Linked DNA regions of Homo sapiens: region 2 is linked to region 1. Evidence: promoter capture Hi-C in 16 types of primary human blood cells and fetal thymus (Javierre and others, 2016). All regions are on one chromosome and are shown on one strand. Each heading gives the region's core, a stretch centred on a gene start or on the middle of the fragment in contact. The rest is flanking DNA. Distances are from core to core; before and after follow the strand shown. Region 1 holds the start of TESC (tescalcin). Region 2 overlaps SPRING1 (SREBF pathway regulator in golgi 1).

Region 1 (4,523 bases), core at 2,024-4,523:
CCTGACCTTCTGGTCCTTTCTGGATGGTGTTCTCAGAAAGGGACCAAGCTGATTCCTCCCCAGAAAGTCAGGGGTCATCTTGGTCCTCAGGGAGGCGGGGGAGTCAGCAGCCCTGTGGGCTCAGTCTGTCCTCTGGCCACCTTACCCTGAGGCTTTTCTCCCTTTTTCTCAGGGAAGATTCCCAAGGGAATGGCCTTGGAGGAAGGGCCCTGCCTGACCCACTGGGTCTCTGGGAGCTGACGTTCCCATGCCAAGCCGATCGTCTCGCACGTAACCTTATCAAATCCACACAATGACTTCAGGATCCAGGTGGGGGTACTGAGGCTCAGAGAAGTAAGATGACTTGCCCAAGGTCATGTAGCTCAGAGAGGTGGGACCAAGACTCAACTCTCAGCTATGGCTCGGAGCGACCAGGACATACAAGAGTGTTTAAAGCATGGTCAATAACAAACCATGTACATGTGTTTGGTCTAACTACTTCATGTATATTAACTCAATCCTTCCCAACAACTTCAAGGGAGGTACTATGACTATGCCCATTTTATAGTAGATAAAACTGAGGCTCAGAGAGCATAAGTGACTTGCCCAAGGTACCTGGCAAGGCCCCTGAAGCCAGGCTCCTGCCACAGCCTGAGCCCTGACGACAGCTGTGTCCTCATCTCATGCATTCTTATTTACTGTTGCTGGCTTGTCCCTGCCACAGGGCCTCTGCATTCGACGTCCCCTCGGCCCGAGATGCCCTTTCCACTGATTTGCACACCCCTGGCTCATTCTTACTTGGATTTCTGTTCCATTATCACCTCCTCAGGGAGGACCTCCGGATCCACCCTAAAGCTCCATTCTCATGCCACCCTGCTATGCCTCGTTCACAGTTTAACACCTGTCGGGCGTTTTGTTTACTGTGTGTCCCCCTCCAGGAACAGCAGCCTCTCCGAGTCATCTCTAAATCCCCAGCCCCTGGTCTATAAATATTTGCTAAGTGGGCAAAAGTGACCGAATTACGCAGTCCCTTTCGGAGGACTGGGGGCAACTTTCCACCTACCTAAAGTTCCACCTGCCTACTCTAGTCTAACCTCAGAACCTCCTCTCCGACCCTCTCCATCTCCCTTGGGTTATGAAGTCTGAGCTCTGGGCAGCAAGAAGGGAAGCCGCTGCAGCTACATCTAGGAAGGTTACAGAGCAGGAACACAGCATCTGTCATCCCAGTGGGAGGCTGGACCCAGGAAACTGACAAGACTCCCAGCATGCTCTGCAGCCCCTCCTCCCTGTCAAACCCACAACCAGGTGGAATTCCCGAGTGCCCCGTGGGCTGCCGGAGAGCCCACCCTTCCAACGGGGATCCCAGCCACAGAGAATGCCCATCGACACCCATCCAGATTCAAAGCAGTGGGAGGCGAGGAGAGGGCACATGAGAAATAATAAAAGCAGAGGAGACCCAAGCAAGTAAGAGCTAGAGGAATCCCTCCTTTCTCTCTCATATTAGTCTTCGGATTGAAGTGCATAAAACTTTTTGAGTAAGTAAAATATCCAACATAGTTCAAAATGAACATATAAAAACGTTTACGGAGAAAAAGCTCACTCTCCCTTCATCCCTTCCACTCCCCCCGCAACCCCCACCAAGCATCCATTCGTACTTTCTGGTGGATTCTTCCAGTCTGCAAATATAGCAATTACAAATGTATACTCTTATTTTCCCCTCTTTTTACATTTTCTATTTCTTTTTACTTTGCGGCTCCAGCTCAAAGGATCCTTTTTTAAAAAACAGAAAAAAGGGTACCATATTATATATGCTGAGCCACACCTTTTACTTCTTTAGTTGGATATTTCTATATCTCTACACACACAGAGATACAGATATAGACGTATAAGTGCGTGCATACACACACCAGTTATTAATGGTTTTCTGCAATTTTCATCCAGTTCTCCTGGAAAGGGGTATTTAGATTGGGGGTCAAGAGGGGTTGCTTTTCAGCTGACACACAAACAGCTGGGCCACCCTCTCTTGGTGATCAATACTGGACGCTGGTTCTCTGCACTTGAAGCAGGTGCCAGGAGCTAGCTCTTTCCCAAAATATCTGCAGCTCCCATTTCCTGAGCGTCTACCAGGTACTAGGAGAACTCTTACAACAGAGAAGGAAAGCTGAGAATCAGAGAGGTAAAGTGACTAGCCCAAGGTCACACAGCCAGGAAGTGCAGCTGGCAGGGTTCACAGCCGGTCTGTCGCTCGCCAAAGCCGGTTTGCCCACACACCTGGCCCCCGCGGTCTCCAGTCCACACCCTGGTCCACAGCCAGAGGCAGAACTGGCCATGCCGAGTTCAGGACCCAGGGCCAAGTCCCCAGCCCGGCTGAACTCGGGCAGAGAAGCGCTTTCTCCGCCATTTCCCTGCGGGCAGCTCGGCCAGGCCTCCCAGGGCTCCCCGCCTCCGGGCCGATGCGGGGCGCGCAGCCTTTGCTGGTCCCGGGAGACTCAGCGAACTCAGGGGAGGACGCTGGGCTCCGGGCAAAGTGCTCTGCGGCCGCTGCCTCGCTAAGTCTCCCAGCCACCCGCGGGGATGAGGCTGCCTGAACCCATTTTACAGATGCGAGGACGAAAGCAGGCGCCGGGCGCCGGCTCTCCCGACTAAGGTCACCCGGCCGGGGAGCGTCGGAGACCTGTTCCCACCCAGGTCCGCCGACTTCAAAACTTTCCGCTCTCGCGCTCACGAATGCAAACGACTCTCAGGTGTGGGGCGCGCGCGCCAGCGGGGGTGCCTGAGGGACTTGCCCGCCCGGCCTGAGGCACCTGCCCTGCGCTTGGGAAGCCTGGGCCCCGCTCCCTCCCCGGTCCGCAGTCCCCCGGCCAGGGAGTTCCCGGGCCAGTCCGAAGCTGAGCGGCTGCGGCACTGAGCATCGCCGCGGAGCTCCTCGCCGCAGCCCGCGAGGTGGCCAGCGGGGACCCATTTGAAAGAGGAGGAGACTGAGGCGCAGAGAGGGCCCGCCACTGGCCCAAGGTCACACAGCGCGGCGGCGGGCCGGGGTCCCCAACAGTGGCCGTTCGGAGGTCCCGCCCCGGTCCCCGCGCCGCCCCCCGCGGGTACTCACAGCCGGTCTTGCCCTCGAGCTCCCGCACCTCCTCAGACGCGGAGTGGGCAGCGCCCATGGTGCCCGCGGCGGGGGCCCCGGGGCGCGCGTCCCTCTCAGGCCCCGCACTGGCTTCGGCTGCGCAGCGGCGGGACTGGCCTCGGGTCCGGCCTCGGGTCGGGACGCCGGCGAAGGCTCGGAGCCGCGGGTTCCGCGTGGGGCCGGAGCGGGGCCTCATATAACGGCGGAGGGCGGCGCGCCGCGGTCCTAGCGCACGCCGGTTTCGCGCACTGCGCGGCTAGGGGAGCGCCCCGCCCCGCCCCGGCCCGGAAACCGCCGGGAAGGGGACCCCGGAGCCCACCGCTCTGGAGTCCCCGTTCGTGCAGCAGTGCTCACGTACCTCGTCCCTTCCGCACACCTGCTGGATCTGGAAGGAAGCAGGTGTGAGCAAATTTGGGGGCGTGGGTAGGAGGGGTGGGACCCCTGGGAGGTGCTATGCCCACTCCCAACCCATCCCACCTTACATCCTCCAGATCTTAGGAGGGAAACTCCACTGAGATAGTCAAGGAAGTCAGCGAGCATGAAATAGCTCTATGGAGAACAACAGTAATAATAATCCTATTTGAAAATGCACCATGCGCTTTGGTTTTTTCCAGGAAAGCCCCAGCACCTTCTGAGGTGAACACACCCACGTGGCGGCCCGTGTGGGCCCTGCACAGCCCGGTGGCTGAGAGGCACCTCAAACTGCAGGAGCGGGCTGGGCGCATGGCTCACGCCTGTAATCCCAGCACTTTGGGAGGCCAAGGCGGGCGGATCACTTGAGCTCATGAGTTCGAGACCAGCCTGGCCAACATGGTGAAACCCCGTCTCTACTAAAAACACAAAAATTAGCCAGGCGCGGTGGCACATGCCTGTAATCCCAGCTACTCCGGAGGCTGAGGCAGGAGAATCACTTGCACCTGGGAGGCAGAGGTTGCAGTGAGCTGAGATCTTGCCACTGCACTCCAGCCTGGGCGACAGAGCAAGACTCTGTCTCAAAAAACAAACAAACAAAAAAACAACTGCAGAAGTGGGCCCAGGAGGCTGCATTTGGGACAAACTGCTGGAGAGAAGGCAATGCCGGTGGTCCCCATGCCCATTAGGGAAGTTCTGGGTTAAGATGGCTTGAGGGGTTGGCTCTCCATCCAGTTGGGGTGACTGGGGCCGATGCTGTTGCCTGTGTAATGTGATTCCTCCTCCTTAAAATAAGGATAAGTTAATGAGATGTCCACCAGAGGGCCTGGCGTGGACACAGCACATGGCCACAGAGGCTGGTGGGCGCTATGGAATCTTGTCCCCTGGAGAGGCACACAGCCAGGGCAGAACATCAAGGTCAAGGCTCTCCTGAAGGCTCTGCAGTGCTTAGTGACACCACCATCAATGACCGTCAGGTATCAGGTCTGTTCTGAACGTTAGTCTCGAT
Region 2 (4,357 bases), core at 765-3,264, 390 kb before region 1:
ACAAAATACAGGCAAAACGCTCCAGCGGAACTTTAATTAGTGGTTATCTCTAGGGGCTGGGAATCTAATTTGGCACAATTTAATTTCTTTGTAAGTTCATACATTTTAAGGTTTCTGCCTGGTAATCACAAAAGCAGAGAAAGGAAAACCTTTTACTGAGCTGAGCAATGCCTGTAGAAGCCCTGCTTAGTAGGAGTTCCAAGATGCTCTGTGTATCTCAGGTGAAGCACACCTAAATAATTGAGCACTGCATTAAGGCTCAGAAACGTAGTACCGTTGTGTGCTTCTCTGCCAAAAGGCAGCTATTTTTATGACAGAAAACACAGCAGCTGTTTTCACAGGTGCAGGGCAGCAGTACATGGGAAGTTGGTCCCAGCAGAGAAGGATATGGTGTCTCTTTAAAACTGGAGGAGGAAGAGGCAGAAAATGGTGAGCCCCAGTTGAAATCTGCAAGAGAGAAGGAGGAAGCCCTGGTTTGGAGAAAAACGGGCTCCAGATGGCTGGGCTACATTTGTCCTGTGAAAATCAAAAGCCTGGGACCCAGCCGCTGGGATACGAGGGCTCTGGTCTTGCTTTAACAGCCAGGGGGACTTTTGGCTTGTTACAAAAATTGGAATTTGGATCTGCAAGATACGCTAGCCATCACCCTTAATTGACAAATGAGGAAACCAAAGCCGGAGAGGGTAATTTACTCAAGGTCATTAAGGTCAGTGCTCTTGTCAATAAAATTAGGATATTGCTCACATACTTCATACTGCTTTTGTTACACACACACACACACACACACGCACACACAGAGCCAATGTATGGAAACATCCCTGAGAATATATAATGTCATCACATTTACTATTCAAATTAGCATCAACTGGTCAAATATTTATTCAGGTAGTAACTTACTCAACATTTCTATCTTGACATCCCCCAGTACAACTTAATACAATGCCCCAATCCCCACAGGACAGGACAACACTCTCTCTCGCTCTCTCTCTTCCTTAAGAATAGTGAGATGTGGCCAGGCGCGGTGGCTCACTCCTGTAATCCCAGCACTTTGGGAGGCCGAGGTGGGCGGATCACGAGGTCAGGAGATCGAGACCATCCTGGCTACTAACACGGTGAAACCCCGTCTCTACTAAAAATACAAAAATTAGCTGGGCACGGTGGCGGGCGCCTGTAGTCCCAGCTACTCGGGAGGCTGAGGCAGGAGAATGGCGTGAACCCAGGAGGCAGAGCTTGCAGCGAGCCCAGATCGTGCCACTGCACTCCAGCCTGGGCGATGGAACGAGAATCCGTTTCAAAAAAAAAAGAATAGTGAGATGTGACCAACATAGCCTGGAATCTTAAATTACTGATAATGGTGATTTCTCATTTAGACAACACTTTTTTCCCCTCCTCAGACAGGGTCTCACTCTGTGGCCCAGGTTGGAGCACACTGGCGCAATGACGGCTCACTGCAGCCTTGACCTCCTGGACTCAAGCCATCCTCCCGCCTCAGCCTCCTGAGTAGCTGGGACTACAGGTGTGCACTACCATGCCTGGCTCCTTTTTTTTATTTTTTGTAGAGACAGGGTCTCCCTATGTTGCTCAGGCTGGTCTCGAATTCTGGGCTCAAGCAATCCTCTCACCTTGGCCTCCCAAAGTGCTGGGATTACAGGTGTGAGCCACCACACCCGGCTGCCAACACCACTTTCGATTTTGGGATAATCTGGGTGCACAGTGATCAGAAGCTTACCTACCCCACGTTGCATAAAAAAAAGTATGAATTTAAAAATTCCAAGAGTAAACTACCCTATGAAAACCTCTGGCAGTGCTGATGAAAACACATTTCTGGTAGTGATATGTCTTGGTCCCTCTGGTCTCACAGAATGTGTAGTCCTGAGAAAAAATAAACCTGGACTCTTGGTAAAATATTTGAATAATTAACTGCTTTGCTCATTGGTTGTAACTGGCAAGTCATTCTCTTTACTACATTAAAGTCTGCACTTTCATTTTACAGACAGTCCTACAGTTCAACTCCAACATCAGGGACTGAGTCGTACACAGGAAGATCACTGAGTAGGTTCTGTGGAGACGCAGTCGGCCCATATGCACGTCACCACTCGGCTCCCAGCTCAGGTGCAGACCAACGGCGACCACTTGCTCCACTTTGCTCTGTGACAGCAGACGAGGTAAGGCATGTTGCAGATACATGCTGAATATAGGGATGCCTGTACACAAAACTGCACTCATGCTGTGATAACACGCAAAAGGTCACACACTGGAAGAGCCTTGCCCAACGAACGATAGACTAACAGGCCAGAGGCGGGGAAAGCTTCTCGGAGTCCCACTATCTTCTTTGTTTTTATTGCTCCTACTTACTTATGTGATACCTTTTTAGTAGAATGACTAGTTTTCTAAACAGAACCTGTAATGACAGGCTCACATTTCTTCCTCAACTCCCACCTCCAAAGCCACTCCATTCAAAGAACTGCTGGTGAGGTGCTGGGGAGTCAATCCGTCGTAGAGGGGAAGCGTTCTACCCCTCCAGATCCTTCTGCAGACAGGAGGGTGTCTGCATTCGGCGGAGTCCAAGAGTGCGGTGAGGACACAGTGGCAAAGGAATAATGCCATTCCTTGAGGCAGCGCTGGGCTAGTAGAGACCTGTGAGGAAGTAATGTGTCCTGTGGGGATTTCAGGGTAATTTAATCAGCAGCACTTCAGCAGGGTAGAAAGCAAGGGCGGGGAAAAATAATGAAGTCAGCACTCAGCTACCAGGAGCTCCTCTGTTCAATCTAACGGGGAGATATGACCCCAGAGCAGGGCTTCCCTCCCTCCACCCGGCTCCCACTTCCAGCCAGGTAATTCTGTGTCGTGGGGGCTGTTGGGCACCATCCCTGGCCTCCCTCCACGAGTGCCCACAGTACTGCCCTCCTCCCCACCTGTGACAAAAATGTCTCCAGACATTGCCAAATGTTCCCTGGGGGGCAAAATTGCCCCTGTTGAGCACCACTGCCCTAGATGAACTGGAAAAGTTGGTTTGTGAATATGTGAGCTTAGTTGTTTCTAACACAGGGCTGAAAAACAAGAGAAGGGGACAAAGGCTGCTTTCATATAAAAATGTACTGTAGTAATCAGTAAGAAAAAGAAACAACATTGGCTAAGTCACGAATAGGCATTTCACCATATGTACATGATAAATGGCCAATCAAAATAAGGAATGGGGCTCATTCTGCTGGAAATTAAATACATTCAAACAAGAACAGAGATCCATTAGCAAAATGTTTAAAAATAATATCACAGGGTTACCAGGGGTATGACAAAAATGGACACTTCCATACACACTAGGTGAATATATTGGTGAAAATAGTTCAGATAAACATACAACCATGTATGTAAAAGTATTTATCATCAATGCATTATTTGTAGTAGCAAAAACAACAAGCAGCCTTGGAAACCAGTTAATGTCCTCAGCAGGGAATTAATAATATTATTGTATATTCATGAAATTGACACCATGTGGCCACACAAATGCATTACACAGGCCTCTATGTAACATAGGATATTCATTAGAGAATTGTTTTTCAAGAGGACAAAGTACTTTCATTTTTGCCTAGAAAATGGGGGAAGACAAAAATGCGCTTCTCTCTAGGTTGTGTGATTTTAGGTTATCCTAAGTTTCATCCTTACGTGCTCCTGAATTATCTGAAATATCGTATCTTTAAAAACAGTAACAACAATAGTAACAAGAGCTCTGTAATTCCTACCCTTCCAACCTCAGGAGCCCACCCACCCCTATCCGAGCCGACCCCTGACTGCCCCTGCCATTGCTCCCTGCTGAGTTGCAGACATTGACTTCTTGCCAAGCCTCAGGCCTTGCTCACATCGACACCTCACAGTGACCCTGAGAGGCAGATGCTGTGACCCCATTTCACAGATGAAGGGCCTGAGCCACAGAGGAGGAAGACTGCCTCAGCCACGCCGCTAGTAAGTGGTAGTTCCCAACTCTAGAGTCCCAAAAGAATTCTGTCCTACTTATGAAAAGTATATCCAATAAGCAGTACCTCCCTGTGTTTACAACTTATCTGCTGATCCCAAGGATGGGAAAAGCTGCACTCAGAAACTTGCAAATTGTGCAACTGTTCCCCACGATTCCCTTGGGGCCAGTGCCGACTGAGGCATCTCCAGGAGGCCCCAGTTGGGCTTGGGGACATGCTGAGAGGTGACAGCACTGCTCTCAAGTCATATCCTCTGCTTCTGCAAAAGCTGTGGAGCTCACCCATCAATAGCAGCTCCATGCCGGGCGCAGTGGCTCACGCCTGTAATCCCAGCACTTTCGGAGGCTCAGGCGGGCAGATCATCTGAGGTCAGGAGTCCGTGACCA

Evidence for each region. The method cuts DNA at HindIII sites, captures the fragments that hold promoters and counts their contacts. A CHiCAGO score of 5 or more calls a contact.
Region 2: a contact is called between a fragment that was not itself captured here and the fragment with the promoter of TESC in region 1, in 1 of 17 cell types (total CD8 T cells). The highest score is 5.7, in total CD8 T cells.

The regions. Positions count from the first base shown.
Region 1 is chr12:117,096,143-117,100,665 of GRCh38, forward strand. It overlaps TESC (tescalcin), which reads right to left and starts at 3,274. Exons shown (of 8, transcript NM_017899.4): 1 at 3,083-3,274. The coding sequence starts at 3,140. TESC-AS1 (TESC antisense RNA 1) reads left to right here and starts at 3,325. Exons shown (of 3, transcript NR_120464.1): 1 at 3,325-3,502; 2 at 4,311-4,498. RefSeq lists silencers at 2,670-2,769, 2,840-2,949, 3,010-3,529, 3,268-3,406, 4,273-4,490. The HindIII fragment of the contact is 9,670 bases long and covers 1-4,523 here.
Region 2 is chr12:116,710,242-116,714,598 of GRCh38, forward strand. SPRING1 (SREBF pathway regulator in golgi 1) reads right to left here. Exons shown (of 5, transcript NM_024738.4): 5 at 1-4,357. Among named protein-coding and RNA genes, the nearest start is that of SPRING1, 26 kb to the right of the region's middle. The HindIII fragment of the contact is 584 bases long and covers 1,723-2,306 here.